3 separate regions of the Homo sapiens genome follow, and all the other regions are linked to region 1. The links are contacts of gene promoters, found by promoter capture Hi-C in human tissues and cell types (Jung and others, 2019). All regions are on one chromosome and are shown on one strand. Each heading gives the region's core, a stretch centred on a gene start or on the middle of the fragment in contact. The rest is flanking DNA. Distances are from core to core; before and after follow the strand shown. Region 1 holds the start of NARF (nuclear prelamin A recognition factor). Region 2 holds the start of RAB40B (RAB40B, member RAS oncogene family). Region 3 holds the start of CD7 (CD7 molecule).

The links. Contacts are between HindIII fragments. The study calls those that stand out against the background at their distance.
Region 2: a contact is called between the fragment with the promoter of RAB40B here and the fragment with the promoter of NARF in region 1, in 1 of the 25 tissues and cell types used here (dorsolateral prefrontal cortex).
Region 3: a contact is called between the fragment with the promoter of CD7 here and the fragment with the promoter of NARF in region 1, in 1 of the 25 tissues and cell types used here (neural progenitor cells).

Annotation. Positions count from the first base shown.
Region 1 is chr17:82,457,430-82,462,524 of GRCh38, forward strand. NARF (nuclear prelamin A recognition factor) reads left to right here and starts at 1,312. Exons shown (of 11, transcript NM_012336.4): 1 at 1,312-1,401; 2 at 2,563-2,643. The coding sequence starts at 1,375. NARF-AS2 (NARF antisense RNA 2) reads right to left here and starts at 1,090. Exons shown (of 3, transcript NR_184099.1): 1 at 244-1,090; 2 at 9-119. RefSeq lists enhancers at 651-800, 1,234-2,066 and a silencer at 831-1,650. The HindIII fragment of the contact is 15,922 bases long and covers 1-5,095 here.
Region 2 is chr17:82,696,235-82,701,329 of GRCh38, forward strand. RAB40B (RAB40B, member RAS oncogene family) reads right to left here and starts at 2,464. Exons shown (of 6, transcript NM_006822.3): 1 at 2,221-2,464. The coding sequence starts at 2,362. RefSeq lists silencers at 2,193-2,622, 2,643-3,032. The HindIII fragment of the contact is 28,650 bases long and covers 1-5,095 here.
Region 3 is chr17:82,315,143-82,320,237 of GRCh38, forward strand. It overlaps CD7 (CD7 molecule), which reads right to left and starts at 2,466. Exons shown (of 4, transcript NM_006137.7): 1 at 2,272-2,466; 2 at 1,525-1,839; 3 at 1,053-1,267; 4 at 1-289. The coding sequence starts at 2,353. The coding sequence ends at 179. The HindIII fragment of the contact is 15,699 bases long and covers 1-3,955 here.

The DNA of each region.
Region 1 (5,095 bases), core at 62-2,561:
AAACATACACAAACACAATGAAGCTTCAGGCCCCTTCACGAGGGTCATGTCATCTCACCAGAACCACTCCATGGTCAGTGTCTCTTATCAGTAAGGAATACTGGTCAATTGGGCCGAAACTGCAAATGAGAGAGTTGTTATCAGCGGTGGAGTCTTTCGAAAGCGCTGGTTTCCGTTAAGCTCTTAGCCAAGAAAACCTAATGGTAGTTAGCCAAGGGTTGGCCTTAATAACAGGTGTCTCACCTCCCATCTGTCATGGCTGAGAACTGCCTTCAAGGCAACCCTGGGATCTCCTTAGCCAGTAGGGGGTTCGTGTAGTCAGTTGGGGGTCTTTGGATTTCATTTTCATTTCTCAGAGGACAGGAAGGAAGGCTCTAACATGGGGAATCCTGAGAACTGCTGCTGTCTGTTAAATACGCCTACAAGTTATTTTTCTTATGTCACACTCTCCCAGACATGTTCTTACTTCTCATTTCTGATTTCTGTAATACACACACACTGATTTCATAAAACGTTTATGAGTCCAACACTTCCATTATAGCCCTGTATCAATGTTTTGCTTAGCTGAAATCAATTTCTTGGAGGAGTAAGTGTTATCTTTACTTTGTAAGCTGTAAGGGCCCAAATCAATGTACTTGGTAAAACTATCCATAGTGAACACACGCAAATGTCAAATGGCCATCATTTAGCATCTGCCCTCGGGCTTCCGGGTCCATCACGTGGTTACTGACAGGCAGGCCGCGCATGCGCGCTGCTACTCCGCCGAGCCTACGTGACACGACGTCAAGTGGCAATGGCGGCGGACGAGGGCTGTGCCCCCGGCCCGCCCCGTTAGGAGCCGCGAGTAAGGCGAGTGTCCAACGCCGAGCTGGCTGACAGAGCCCGGCCGCGGCCTCCGCGGGCCCAGGGGCCTCCAGGCCCCGTGACCACCGGACCGAGCACCCTGGAACGGCCCCAGCTTGGCCTCGGGACAGTCCGCGCGCTCACCGACTCCCTGGTGAACGCCGCTTGGCCGCCGCCGCCGCCGCAGGACCCACGAGAAGCGGAAACCGGCGCAAGGACCCGGTCCCCCCGGCGCCGTACGTGGAGTGAGCCTGCGGTCCGCCCCGCGCGCTCCGATTGGCTCTGGGGCCTGGCCCGCCCCTTCCCGACACTGTCATTGGCCTAGGCAAAGCCGTAAGGGTGGGGAATCCTATTGGCCCAGGGGTGCGGCTTGTCCTCTCCCGGTGCTCTCATTGGCCGAGCGCGGCCGTTGGGGGTGAGGCCGCGTCGGGGGAGGACAACAAAGGGCCGCGGGCGGCGGGCAGTGGTGTCCCAGTCTCCCGGTGCTTCCCTGAGGCTGAGGCGCCCGGCCTCCCGCCCGCCGCGCTCCAGATGAAGTGTGAGCACTGCACGCGCAAGGTGAGCGCCGCGGGCCGGGGAGGCGCGCGCCTGGTGCTTGTCCTGTGGGGCTCTGGGCGGCCGAGGTTGGCGGTCCGGGCCCGCCGCTCGCTCGCTTCAGGGCTCTTCAAGGCGCCCCCGGCCTCGGCACCCTGGGCCCGCTCGGCGTGGAGGCGGCCGGCGCGGGGTCCGCTGCGCTCTGCAGGGCGGGTTCGGTCTTCGCGGTTCTCCCTGAACTTGTCCATCTTTCCCACGCCCGCGAAGCGCGGAAACGCACGGAGACCGAGCCTCTCGTGCCGCGCACCACAGTCCGAGTAAACAGCGGTCGTGGCGGGAATGATCAGAAGCGTTTCGAGAGGGTTTTAGGCGTTTTCGAACCTGCCCCTCTGAGGGTCACCGAGCAGCCGGTGCAGGGGCGGAAGCGGGTGACGGCTGCTGACCGGCGCCTTCCGCGGTTGTCTCCAGGCCATGGCAACAACCGCGCAGCGCACGCAGGGGGGTTTTGTAGCTGTTATTGCCGGAATGGGCTCCTGTGGATGCTGCTCTGTGGCTGGCACTTCTGCGCGTGACGCCGTGGCAGGAGGCTTCCTAACATTCCATGGGTCGTTCATCCCCGGTGGTGGCTGCGTCCTATTCTAAGTACACCTGTGTCCAGGGGAATTCGCCTGTGGGGTGAAGGCTACAGTTGCTTCTGCTTTTTTATTATTGTAAACAATAGAGATGTGTGTGTGTCCTTCAGTACCTGTTTCACTAGAAGGGTTAGAAGGATAGAAGGCCAGGCACGGTGGCTCAAGCCTGTTATCCCAGCACCTTGGGAGGGGAGGCCGAGGCGGGTGGATCACCTGAGGTCAGCAGTTCAAGACCATCGTGGCCAACATGGCGAAACCCAGTCTCTACTAAAAATATAAAATTAGCTGGGTGTGGTGGCGCACACCTGTAATCCCAGCTACTCAGAAGGCCGAGGCAGGAGAATCGCTTGAACCCGGGAGGTGGAGGCTGCAGTGAGCCGAGATTGCGCCCCTGCACTCCAGCCTGGGTGAGAGCGAGACTCCGTCTAAAAAAATAAATAAATAAACTAAAAGAAAGGATAGAAATACATGAGCTTCATTGGTCAGAATGTGCACATTTTCTTAAGGGAGACGAAGTAAAAGTTCATTGATAATGTTCCTTTGCTTTTTTAAGGAATGTAGTAAGAAAACAAAAACTGATGACCAAGAGAATGTGTCAGCCGATGCACCGAGTCCAGCCCAGGAAAATGGAGAGGCAAGTAGATTTTTCAGTTTTGTATCAGCCCAGAGTAAACTACTGCTGCTGTTTTTCTCTTTGGGGGCTCACAGCACCGTGCACATCACTGCTTTAAAGAAGACTGAAGTACGCGGGCATGGTGGCTCACGCCTGGAATCCCAGCACTTTGGGAGGCCGAGGTGGACGGATCACTTGAGGTCAGGAGTTTGAGACCAGCCTGGCCAACATGGTGAAACCTTATCTCTGCTAAAAATACAAAAATTATCCAGGTATGGTGGTGTACGCCTGTAATCCCAGCTACTCAGGAGGCTGAGGCAGGAGAATTGCTTGACCCTGGAAGACAGAGGTTGCAGTGAGCTGAGATTGTACCACTGTACTTCAGCCTGGGCAACAGAGTGAGACTCTGTCCCAAAAAAAAGACTGAAATAGGCCAGGCGTGGTGGCTCATGCCTGTAATCCCAGAACTTTGGGAGGCCGAGGCAGGCGGATCATGAGATCAGGAGATTGAGACTATCCTGGCTAACACAGTGAAACCTCATCTCTACTAAAAATGCAAAAAATTAGCCGGGCGTGGTGGGGGGCGCCTGTAGTCCCAGCTACTCGGGAGGCTGAGCCAGGAGAAAGGCGTGAACCTGGGAGGCGGAACTTGCAGTGAGGCAAGATCGCGCCACTGCACTCCAGCCTGGGCAACAGAGTAAGACTCCGTCTCCGAGACTGAAATAAACTTGAAGGGGCTAATAAAGACATGTGTGAGACAGTCCATCAGTGGCACAAGGCCTGTCTTCTCAGAACACACTACACCAAAACACACTGCATTGGGAACAAAGAAAACGTGGTGTAATACTGGATTTCTTCTTTTAATTTTTTTTTTCCCCTTTTGAGACAGGGTCTCACTGTCACCCAGGCTGGAGTGCAGTGGCTCACTGTATGGCTCACCGCAGCCTTGACCTCTGAGGCTCAAGTGATTCTCCTGCCTCAGCCTCCCTAGTAGCTGGGACTACAGGTATGCACCACCATGCTCAGCTAATTTATTTTTATTTTTATTTTTTGGTAGAAATGGAGTTCCACTATGTTGCCCAGATTGGTCTTGACCTCCTGGGCTCAAGTGATCCTCCTGCCTCAGCCTCCCAAAGTGCTGGGATTACAGGCGTGAGCCACTGCACCTGGCCTCTCTTCTAATTCAGTTCTTGTTTTTAAATTCTCCTTAGCTAGTAGCTATGGTCTCTGTTTATTGGATACATAACCTGAGCCTGGCTCTCAAGAATGTGATTTTACAGCCAGGCATGGTGGCTCACACCTGTAATCCCAACACTTTGGGAGGCCGAGGTGGGTGGATTACCTGAGGTCAGGAGTTCAAGATCAGCCTGACCAACATAGATAAACCCCATCTCTACTAAAAATACAAAATTAGCTGGGCGTGGTGGTGCATGCCTGTAATCCCAGCTACTCAGGAGCCTGAGGCAGGAGAATTGCTTGAACCCGGGAGGCGGAGGTTGAGGTGAGCCGAGATCACGCCACTGCACTCCAGCTGGGGCGACAGAGTGAGACTCCGTCTCAAAAAAAAGAATGTCATTTTACATGCAGTCTCATTTCACGCCCAGAAGGAACATTACATGTAAGCCTGGCCATTATCCCTGTTTTACTGAGTGAAGGGTGTTGGGAGAGGTTAAGGTCAGTCTACCCTTAGAAAGTACTAGTACCAGTTTATAAATGGAGAGTTGGCAATATGGCAGAAGCATATTTTTTCCTTAAGTTTAGTAGTCCTGACATGTTTAATCTGACAGGTGTTCTCCCGGTTGCCCTGTGTGCCAGTGCTGTGGGGACTGTGGGGCTTAGGGAGCAACAGGGCCTGAGACAAGCAGCCAAAGAGCTGGCCACAGGCAGAAGAGAGGTAGGGTGCATTGGAGCCCTGGAGGCAGCTGGGGCCAGTGCGCCTGAGTGGCCGACCCCAGGGGCCTCCCTCACCTGCCCTCTGGTTGTGTCGTTGTAGACAGATATCTAAGCCCTGTGAGCCTCGTTTCCTTATCAGAGGCCTGGGGAGTAGGGTTACCTCCCTCCCAGGACTGTGGTGAGGATGAGATAACGTGTGTACACAGCCTAAGTGGGCGCCCTGCCAGGTCAGTGATGGACACAGGGTGAGAGGAGTTGGGTTGGGGTTAATGGAGTGGACCCTGAAGAGTGGTCAGAATTCAGGGTGGGAGTGTAGGGAAGGGCACTGGCACACCAGGCAAGAGGAGGGTGTGGACAGACGTGCTCTAGGGAGAGACAGTGGCTCCCCTTGGCCAGGTCAATGACAGTGCAGAGCTGTGGAGACCGTGAGGGGGTGACTCAGGTGTTTGTTTTAGGGCAGGTGATGGAGGTAACCGACTTAAGCTGGCTAGAGTAGGGGAAGAATTGCAGGAAGCCACTTGGGTGGCAGCTTTGAGAGCCTAGGCAGAGGTGGTGGGCCTGGGCAAGTCTACCAGAGTGA
Region 2 (5,095 bases), core at 1,214-3,713, 240 kb after region 1:
TTGGACCATTGTTTTGGTTCGTCCTCAGTTCGGCATGTAGCAACCAAAAGTCACGCAGCAGAAGCATCCCCGAGCCTCCATTCAAACCAACCAGAAGGAAGTTTCACAAACATTCTGTGCGTGACCCTTCTCACACACGCCCCACGGCACTCACCTTCAATCAAACTCAACACTGTCAACCGTCTGCTCCCCCAAAACACGCACAGCTCTTAAAGCGCCATATTCGTCTGGGCGTACACGTTGTTGGGTGCTTTATTCCTGTAGCTCTGGTAGGGTTCATCCCTCACTGAGCCCAGACCCCGAGGGCACAGTGCAGACAAAGCCCTGTCCTCCAGGCGCTCAATCTCCAGCCCTGTCCTCCAGGCGCTCAATCTCCAGCCCTGTCCTCCAGGCGCTCAATCTCCAGCCCTGTCCTCCAGGCGCTCAATCTCCAGCCCTGTCCTCCAGGCGCTCAATCTCCAGCCCTGTCCTCCAGGCGCTCAATCTCCAGCCCTGTCCTCCAGGCGCTCAATCTCCAGCCCTGTCCTCCAGGCGCTCAATCTCCAGCCCTGTCCTCCAGGCGCTCAATCTCCAGGGCAGCGCTGGCCCTCGGACTTTGCCACAGCGACATCCGAACTATCTAGAAATGTGACGAATGGAAGCTTTTTGTTTTCTTTCCTTCTAATTACACTTCCACAGCCACACGTGGCTCATGGCATCCTACTGGACACCACGGTCCTAGAGACCTGCCACCGAGCGGGGAGGGGGGTAGGACATGCGGGGGCAGCGGCGCCTGGGGACAGGTAGAGACGCAGGCTCCCCTCCTGCCCCACGGAGCACACTCTGCACCCACCAGCTGCCAGAGACTCCCCCGCATGCTGCAGTTTCAGGAGGCCTCTGGGTGCTGGTCGTGAGCCCAAGCCCATCTCAGCTGCTCCCCCAAACTCTGCCCATTCCTCACCCCGTCCCCTAAGCTGAGGTGTGGCCGGGCACCTGAGTCCCACCCCACGCTCCACAGTCTCAGGCCACCCCCTCCAGCCGTGCCACACTCCCTTGGTGCTCACGCCGCCTGCCTGGAGCTGCCCTTAGGGGACAGCCTGCACCCTCTACCGAGCAGCCTCAGATCCCGCTTCCTCCCACCCTCTCCCGCTAAGTTCGTCTCTGGCAGGACCCTGGACCTGGGGCTTCCCAGACCCTTCCCAGGCCCCAGAGCTGACAGGTCCTTCCCACCAAGACTCCATCTCCACGCCCGGCTGCCCTCCTCCGCCCAGGACTCAGAGCGGGTCTCTGTTGGAAGCGTGGGTTCAGCCCCGAGGCGCGGCAGGAAGGTGGGCACAGGCTGGGCTCCTTCCACAGCCTCAGGGTCGGCCTCGTCCAAGCTGTTCCAGGGATGCGCGTGGGTGAAGGCCCCGCCTGCTCCTCACTCCCAGCCGAGGTGTTCGCCTCTGCGCGTTCCCCCTTCTCCTGGGTTCCTGCCCCCGCCTTTCTTTCCCCGGAGCCGTCCACCCCCTCGCCGGGCGCCGGCTTTCAAGCCTCAAACTTGGGGGATCCCCGGGCTGCCTGCCTGGGAGCTCTGGGCGCTCCGGCCTCCCCTCGCCCTGGAACCCGCTCTCCGGCCGCTGTCGTGGGGGGTCCCCTCTTCCGCACGCGAGTCACCTGTGCTCCTTCCTCTCCCCCGGACACGCGGGACCCCTGGCCTCGGGACCGGACCCTGGTCTCCCCTCCCCTCCGACCCACGCGCAGACCCAGCACCTGGGCGCCTGCTCGCCGCGCTCCGCCCCAGGAGCCCCGGAGCTCGCGTCCCCTCCCGCCCCTCCTGCCCCGCGGCCGAACGCGCACTTGCGGACTCGAGCCCCCGCCCCGGGTCCCCACAGCAGCGGCCCCAGGTCGGGAGGAGCCCAGCGCCCGGCCCAGCCGCGGGCTCCCGCTGCGCGCAGACTGCGGAGAAGGATGGAGACTGCGCCGCGGGGCCTCGAGTGGAACTGGGGGTGCAACAGGGACGCCGCAGCACGAGGGCCAGGGCCGGGCGGAGAAAGGCCCGCCCGCGAACCGCGCTCCTCCTCAGCCCCGCGCCCCCGGACCGGGACTCCTACCCTCCCCGGCCACGCGCCCCGGCCTCTTCCCGACCCCTGCCCGGTCTCGCGTCCCCGGACCCGGACCCCCACCCGCACCCCCTCCCCAGCCCCGCGCCCCTCCCCGGCCCCGCGCCCGCACCCCGGCACGCCCTCCGCCCGCGCTCACCCGCCGGGTGGCCGTACGGGGACTCGGCCGCGCCATCCTGCAGGCTCGCCAGGATCTCGCCCTTGCCCACGTCGCTGTCGCCCACCAGCAGGAACTTGAGCAGAAAGTCGTAGGCCCGGACCGGGCTGCCCAGGGCGCTCATCGTGACGGCCCGGCGCCCCCACCCATGCCCGGCCTGCGGGGCTGAGCGCAGAGGCGGCGGCCCGGCCCCGAGAGGCGCCGCGCGGGCCCCGAGTCCTTGCTCGCCTCCGGCCCCGCCCCGCCGCCCAGCGCTGACAGCGCGCATCCCCGCCCGGCCCCGCCATTGGTGGACCGCAGTTGCTAGGGCAGCTGCGCGCTTTCACTGGCTTGGTTGTCCGTCCATCTTACTCTCGTCACCGCCTCCGGGCTGTCGCCCACCCGCCCCTCCTGAAAGGTCGCTGTCACCACAGCCAATGGAGGCCCGGAGACGGGGCAGGGGCGGAGCCAGAACAAGCAGGAGGCGGGGACTCTGCTCCCGCAGCCAATGGCGGGGCGGGGTGGGGGCGATCAGGGGGTGGGGCCGGGTGTTTACACTCTCGCGTGCGCCCGTGAGCGCCACGAACTCGCTCCCACGGTCGTCGGGTCTGCACGCCCCGAGTCGGGAGGGGCGAGGGGCGGTGCAGGGTCCCAGCGTGGGGCCTCCCCACCTGCCCACCAGGGAGACCTCGGGTGCCTGGCCGGGTGGGGCTCGGGGTCGGTCCAGTTGGCGGACGCGGCCGGAAGGCCCCCGCAGGCCGCCTCGCCGGAGGAGTCCCTGTCGCCGTAGAATCCAGGCTCGCGGTCTCTCCCCACGGTTCATCCAGGGCCTCGTCGTTGCCCCATTTACGCGGCGTGCCTGAATGCCTGTGTGTGCACATGCGCCTGTGTACGTGTGCATGTGTTCGTGTGTGTGCATGTCTGCGTGTGCATGTGTGCCTCTGCAGATATCTGCACATGTATGTGTCTGCGTGTGCATGTGTCCCTCTGCAGGTGTCTGCACATCTATGTGTCTGCGTGTGCATGTGTCCCTCTGCAGGTGTCTGCACATGTATGTGCGTGTGCATGTGTCCCTCTGCAGATGTCTGCACATCTGTGTGTCTGCGTGTGCATGTGTGCCTCTGCAGGTGTCTGCACATGTATGTGCGTGTGCATGTGTGCCTTTGCAGGCATCTTTGCATGTGTGTGTCTGCGTGTGCTGCTTCTATGCATGCGCTCCTATGTGTGCGTGCGCTTGTTTGTGCATCCATGCATGTGTTTGCGTGCGTGCTGGAGGAGAGCATTGGGTGGGACCCTCCAGCCTTTTGGCTTCTCCTCTGCTCTAGAGAGCAAGGGTTGCCAGGCCGAGGTCTGCCCTTCGCTCTGAGGGTCTCACCAGGTGCACATTGGTTTATTTGGTGCAGAATTCAGGCAGCAGGCAAAGGGCGAGCTCCGTCCAAGAAGAAGGATAATGCCCCCACTACTTCATCCCCTCCACCCTGCGTTGTGTAGGGAACTGCTCTAGACCCCATTAGAAGTTTTTTGTGGGGGAGGAACAGAAGAGGGAGCGGAAGAAGAATTACAAAAGAGACTGAAGTCAAGATTATTATATTTGTCATTTGCATTCATTTGGACCTAGAAAATGTTTACTTTGGAATGCCAATTTAGTTTGCAACACCTGTTATTCATTGGTTGATTAGTTGCTTTAGTTACTAATGCAGCCACATTTTTTTTTTTTTGAGACAGAGTCTTGCTCTGTTGCCCAGGCTGGAGTGCAGTGATGTAATCTTGGCTCACTGCAACTTCCACCTCCTGGATTCAAGCCTCCCAAGTAGCTAGGATTACAGGCATGTGCCACCACACCCAGCTAATTTTTGCATTTTTAGTAGAGATGGGATTTTGCCATGTTGGCCAGGCTGGTCTTTGACTCCTGACCTCAAGTGATCGACCTCGGCCTCCCAAAATGCTGGGATTGCAGCACTGTTTTTTTTTAGAAGGAAGGTCAGAGGAAGAAAAGAGGATGGAAGGTGGACGCTAGAAAACTATGAGAAAGATGGCATTTAGTCCCCAGCCCCACCACTCTGCCAAAAAGAATTCAGGGGAGTTTCCTTCCCATCCCTAACCCTCAGTCTCCATGTTCCAATCAGCTGTGGGTCACATGGCTATTACCTAGTGAGGAAAGGGTACCTTCTTTTGCTCGCTCCCCACCTACACATCCAGACTCACTGTACAATAGGGGTCAGGAGGCCCCCAGCCCACCCTCGGGGTCACACCCAGCAGTCCAGCAGTGTTCACGGTGGGGCATGGAGAGGGGTGGCCAGACCACTTCCTACAGAGGACAGGTGATGGGGGAGCCCTTGTCTGCTCTTCTCCTGCCCCACAGAAGGTCCTCACCACCTCCTAGTTGTCACCTCCAAGCTGGCCTTGGCTGAGCTGGAACATGGCCACTCCCACCTGGAGGGCCAGGTAAAATAACCACGTCAGAAGAGGGCTGTGTTCAGATATGGTGTCCATCTTCTTGCCCCAAACATTGCTTTCACCAAACAGAGGTGTTTATTTCTACAGCCAAAGCAGGTTTCCTCCCACCAGGGCCCCCAGTTTCCTGAGGGACAGTCCTGTGGTGGGATACCTCTTCCTCCTCCCCAGTTTCAGTACATGTGTAAAGTCCAGGCAGAGGGTGGAGGTGTCTGGACAGCACTAGCCTACCTTCTGCCCAACTCAGAGCCAGGCTTCCAGACCTGTCCATCTCGGATCATCGGAACATTCCTCCCTGTGGCCACGCTGAAATCTCCTTGAACATCCACCCACCCATGATCTGGGGCTGCTCTGGAGACTAGGCCTCTGTGGGCAGAAGGAATGAAAGGAACATTTACTGATGCTTCTCCACGAGTAAAATGTC
Region 3 (5,095 bases), core at 1,216-3,715, 140 kb before region 1:
ACCGTGGGGCCTGGCCACTGCCTGTGTGTCTGCTTGGAGCTGGGCACGGCTGGGCCCTTCAAACTCTGCTGCAGCCGTGGGAGGACAGCAGGGTGAGGGGTGTGGCAGGGTGGGGGGCATGGTGGGGCAGGGAAGGTGCTGGGGGGACCACAGGCGGGACGTGCAGGGGCCCACTGGGTCACTGGTACTGGTTGGGGGAGGACAGCGTGTTGCAGCGGCTGTGCGACATGTCCTCGTACACCACACATGCCGCCGAATTCTTATCCCGCCACGAGCACAGTTTCTTTATCTGAAAGACAGAACCGCCGTCTCCAACCAGTGGCCAGCGTGGTGTCCTGGACCCCACCCCACTCCGGTCAGCTTTCTAATTTTAACACGAGACCCCCACGGGGCTCCTCTGGGCTGGCCCCCAGGTCTCCTGAGCCCCAGGGCTTCCCAGCAGAGCCTTCCCCAGGCAGGGCTGGGTCGGACCCTGGGGTGCCTCTGAAGAAGGAGAGTGGAAGTGGCTTGGACCCCCCCACCAAGCCCAAGCCAAGCGGGACCCCCACTCCAGCCCCAGACAAACAGCAGGGACCGAGGGGAGTGGCCACGCCTAGACTCTGTGTCTGTCTGAGGCCCCCTCCCCTTCCCACGGCCACACAGCACGCCGGCACACTCCAACATGCACGCACAGTCCTCAGAGATCCCCACACACAGGCTCACACCTGCACACGTGCACACGCGGGCCCAGCGCCTGGGCGCTCCCTCCTCTGCCCGCACACTCCAACCTGCACGCACAGACCTCAGAGATCCCCCCTCAGACACTCACACCTGCACACGCGCACACGCGCACACGCGGGCCCAGCGCCTGGGCTGCTCCCTCCCCCTCAGGTCGCTTTGGTGCTGGTCCCCCTCCCTCCCCGCCGAGGCCACTTCCACCCTGAGAGTTCCAGAGCCTGCAGAGGAGGCGGCGGGTACCAGGGTTTTCCTCTGGGGCTTTGGCGCCCCCCACGCTGCTCTCAGGAGAGGGAACAATCTTTGGGGTGCAGGTGGCAGCTGGGGCTCACACTGACCTGTGTCCTCGCCAGCACACACGCCACCCCCAGGCCCAGCCCGAGGAGGAAGGAGATCACCGCCAGGGCCGCAGGGAGGGCAGAGGCTGCTGGCGGGTCAGGGAGGGCAGAGGCTGTCTGCGGGTCAGGGAGGGCGGAGCCTGTCGGTGGGGCAGGGAGGGCAGAGGCCCTTGGTGGGGCGTCCGAGCATCTGTGCCATCCTTGGGACTGTTCCTCTGAGAAGGAAAAAAGAAGGAAGGGATTCTCCCGGTGGAGAACCTGTTAGAGCCCCCGGGGTTTGGGATTCGGGGCAGGGAAAGGCTGTGGAGGGGAGGAGGGGCAGCTATCTAGGAGGCTGCTGGGGGCAGTGGGCTGGGAGCTGGAACAGTTCAGGCACATGTAGGAGGGAGGGTCCCACGACAAGGGCTGGGGGAGCAGAGCCTGGCCAGCAGCTGGGGTTGGGAGGGGGGTCTGGGATGGGCACATTCCCTACCTGTCACCAGGACCAGGGTGCCGGAGCCGTAGACATTGACCTCCGTGATGGCCTGGCAGGTGTAGGTGCCAGTGTCCGACAGCTGCAGGCGGTGCATGGTGATAGTCAGGTTGTCCTGGGACCCTGAGAAGTCGATGCGGCCCCGGAACCGTCTGTCCGTAGTGGGCACCACCCCGTCCTCGTAGTAAATGATGTCTTGGGGCTGTGGCCCGAGCTGCCTCAGGTAGATCCCACGCAGGCCCCCGCTGGTGGAGCAGGTGATGTTGACGGAGGCTCCCACGGGGACAGTCGTGCAGTGGGGAGACTGCTGCACCTCTGGGGAGGACCTGGGCTGTCACCATCAGTCTGGCCAGAAGGACAGAGAATGTCCTCCCTGCAGGGGACAGTGGTGGGGATGGTGGGGCCCTGAGACAGCCCAGGGCTGACATGTCGCCAAAGACACGGTGCCTTACGGGGCATGGAGCAGATCTGGGCACCGGCTGTGGTGTTGGGGGAGGTGCTGTCCTCGTGTTCCGAGACTGTGGGCTTCTTCCTCCCAAAGCAGCGGCCCTGCCTGGACAGCCCCGGCCACTCCCCACCGGGGTCCACCCTTTTTCCTTCTCTTAAATGAGTCCTCAGACACTGGAGGCCGCTCAGCACCCCACCCGCTTCCTGGGGGCTGTGCTGTGGCTCAGACTGGGGGCTCTGAGCTCATGGGGCAGGGAGAGCTCTGGAGCTGTGGCCATGGAGAGCCTGGGAAGCTCTTACCTTGGGCAGCCAGGGCCCCAGGCAGGCCGCGAGCCAGCGCCAGAAGCAGGGGCAGCAGCAGGAGCCTCGGAGGCCCGGCCATGTTCCCCACACCCAGCTCTCCCAGCCGGGCGAGTGCAGCTGAGCCTCTCTGGGTCTACAGGACCCCACAGAGAGCAGCACACAGGAGACCGCAGGCGCTCAGAGCTCAGAGAGGGCTTCCTGGAGGCGGTGCCTCAGACCAGGGTGGTGCTGTGGGCCCGGTGGGAGGGGCGGTCTCACCTACCCCTCCCCAGCACTGCCTCCCTGAGAGCTGCCCTGAGAGCAGGGCGTCCCTGTATCCCCCACTGCCCCTGCATCTCCACAGGGAGGAGGTCAAGGCCTGGGGCGGGGCAGACCAGAGGACAGAGAAGGGACTCCCTGGCTGGGGACGGGTGGCAGGGTCTGGAAGTGAGCGGCAGAGCTGGCCCCCAGCCTGCCTGGTCCTCTGGGGTACTTTCTGCTGGGACCCAATTTATGCCCAGAAATCTGGAGCCACCCATGACCCATGAGTCACCCACACAGTGCAGAGGAGCACAGGGCAGGCCAGAATTGGCACCCCCTGGTTTGGCCGTGGGGAAGGAGCCTGGGCCTGCACCCGCACCCAACGCTGCAGCCGACCAGCTGACCGTGGCTCTGCGTTCCATGTCCTGGAGGCGGGAGGTCTGAGGTATGGTCCAGGCCTGAGGTTTCCCGACCTCCCTGGGAGGAGTGCGTCAGGCCGCAGTGCCCAGCTTCAGGGGCTGAGGGAGACCTGTGCCTGGGCTCTGACCCCAGGGTGACTGAGTCCTCTGGGAGGGGGCACTTCTCTGTCCTGAGGGCCTCCCGCCACAATGACGAAGCGTTGACGTTGGTGCCCAAAGCCAGTAGGTGCAGCACATGAGCAGGAGTGTGTGGACACGTGTGTGTGCAGAGACGGGTGCGTATGGACATGTGTGTGCAGAGACGGGTGCGTGTGGACACGTGTGTGTGCAGAGACGGGTGCGTGTGGACACGTGTGTGTGCAGAGACGGATGCGTGTGGACACGTGCGTGTGCAGAGGCGGGTGCGTGTGGACGTGTGTGTGCAGAGACGTGTGCGTGTGGACGTGCGTGTACAGAGACGGCTGTGTGTGGACACTTGTGTGTGCAGAGACGGGTGCGTGTGACTCCATGCGTGTGTGCAGAGACGGGTGCGTGTGGACACGTGTGTGCAGAGACGGGTGTGTGTGGACACGCATGTGCAGAGATGGGTGCGTGTGGACACGTGCGTGTGCAGAGACGTGTGCGTGTGGATGTGCGTGTGCAGAGACGGGTGTGTGTGGACACGTGTGTGCAGAGACGGGTGCACTTGACTCCATGCGTGTGTGCAGAGACGGGTGCGTGTGGACACGCGTGTGTGCAGAGACGGGTGTGTGTGGACACGCATGTGCAGAGACGGGTGCGTGTGAACACGTGTGTGTGCAGATGGGTGCGCATGACTCCACGCGTGTGTGCAGAGACGGATGTGTGTGGACACGCGTGTGTGCAGAGACGGGTGTGTGTGGACACGCATGTGCAGAGACGGGTGTGTGTGGACACTTTGTGCAGAGACGGGTGCGCGTGACTCCATGCGTGTGTGCAGAGACGGGTGCGTGTGGACACGCGGGTGTGCAGAGACGGGTGCGTGTGGACACGTGCGTGTGTAGAGACGTGTGCGTGTGGACGTGCGTGTGCAGAGACGGGTGTGTGGACACTTGTGTGTGCAGAGACGGGTGCGCGTGACTCCATGCATGTGTGCAGAGACGGGTGCATGTGGACACGCGTGTGTGCAGAGATGGATGTGTGTGGACACGCATGTGCAGAGACGGGTGCGTGTGGACACGTGTGTGTGCAGAGATGGGTGCGCATGACTCCACGCGTGTGTGCAGAGACGGGTGCGCGTGATTCCACGCATGTGTGTGCAGAGACGGGTGCGTGTGGACACGCGTGTGTGCAGAGACGGGTGCGCATGGCTCCACGCATGTGCAGAGACGGGTGTGCGTGACTCCACACGTGTTTGCAGAGACGGGTGCATGTGAACACGTGTGTGTGCAGAGACGGGTGTGCGTGACTCGCGTGTGTGCAGAGACGGGTGCGCGTGACTCCACACATGTATGCAGAGACGGGTGTGCATGACCACGCGTGTGTACAGAGATAGGAGCGTGTGGACATGTGTGTGTGCAGAGAGGGGTGCGTGTGGACACGTGTGTGTGCAGAGACGGGAGCGCGTGGACATGCGTGTGCAGAGACGGGAATGTGTGGACACTCGTGTGCAGACAGGTGTGTGTGGACACGCGTGTGTGAGGAGACGGGTGCGCGTGACTCCACGCATGTGTGCAGAGGGGTGCGTGTGGACACACGTGTGTGCAGAGACGGGTGCGCGTCACTCCATGCGTGTGTGCAGAGACGGGTGCGCGACTCCATGCGTGTGTGCAGAAACGGGTGCATGTGGACACGTGTGTGTGCAGAGAAGGGTGCACGTGACTCACGCGTGTGTGCAGAGATGTGTGCCCGTGACTCACACACGGACCTGCAGCCCTGAGCTCCTTCCCCAGAAGTCCCAGCCACAGCAGCCGGTGCGGAGACACGGGTGGGGCTGTGGGGTGGTGCAGGTTTTCTGCTGGGCCGAGGGTCCTGGGGGAGCCGGTTTTCCTCCCCCAGGCTCTCCATAAACGAGAGACAGAGGGTTTGGGGGCAGAATCTTGCGCAGAGACCCTGGAGCACCCTAGCAAGGCTGTGGCTCGAGGCGGTGGGTAACAGCACTTGCCGGAGCAGCCCCTCCTCTGGCCTTTGCTCCATGCATGCAT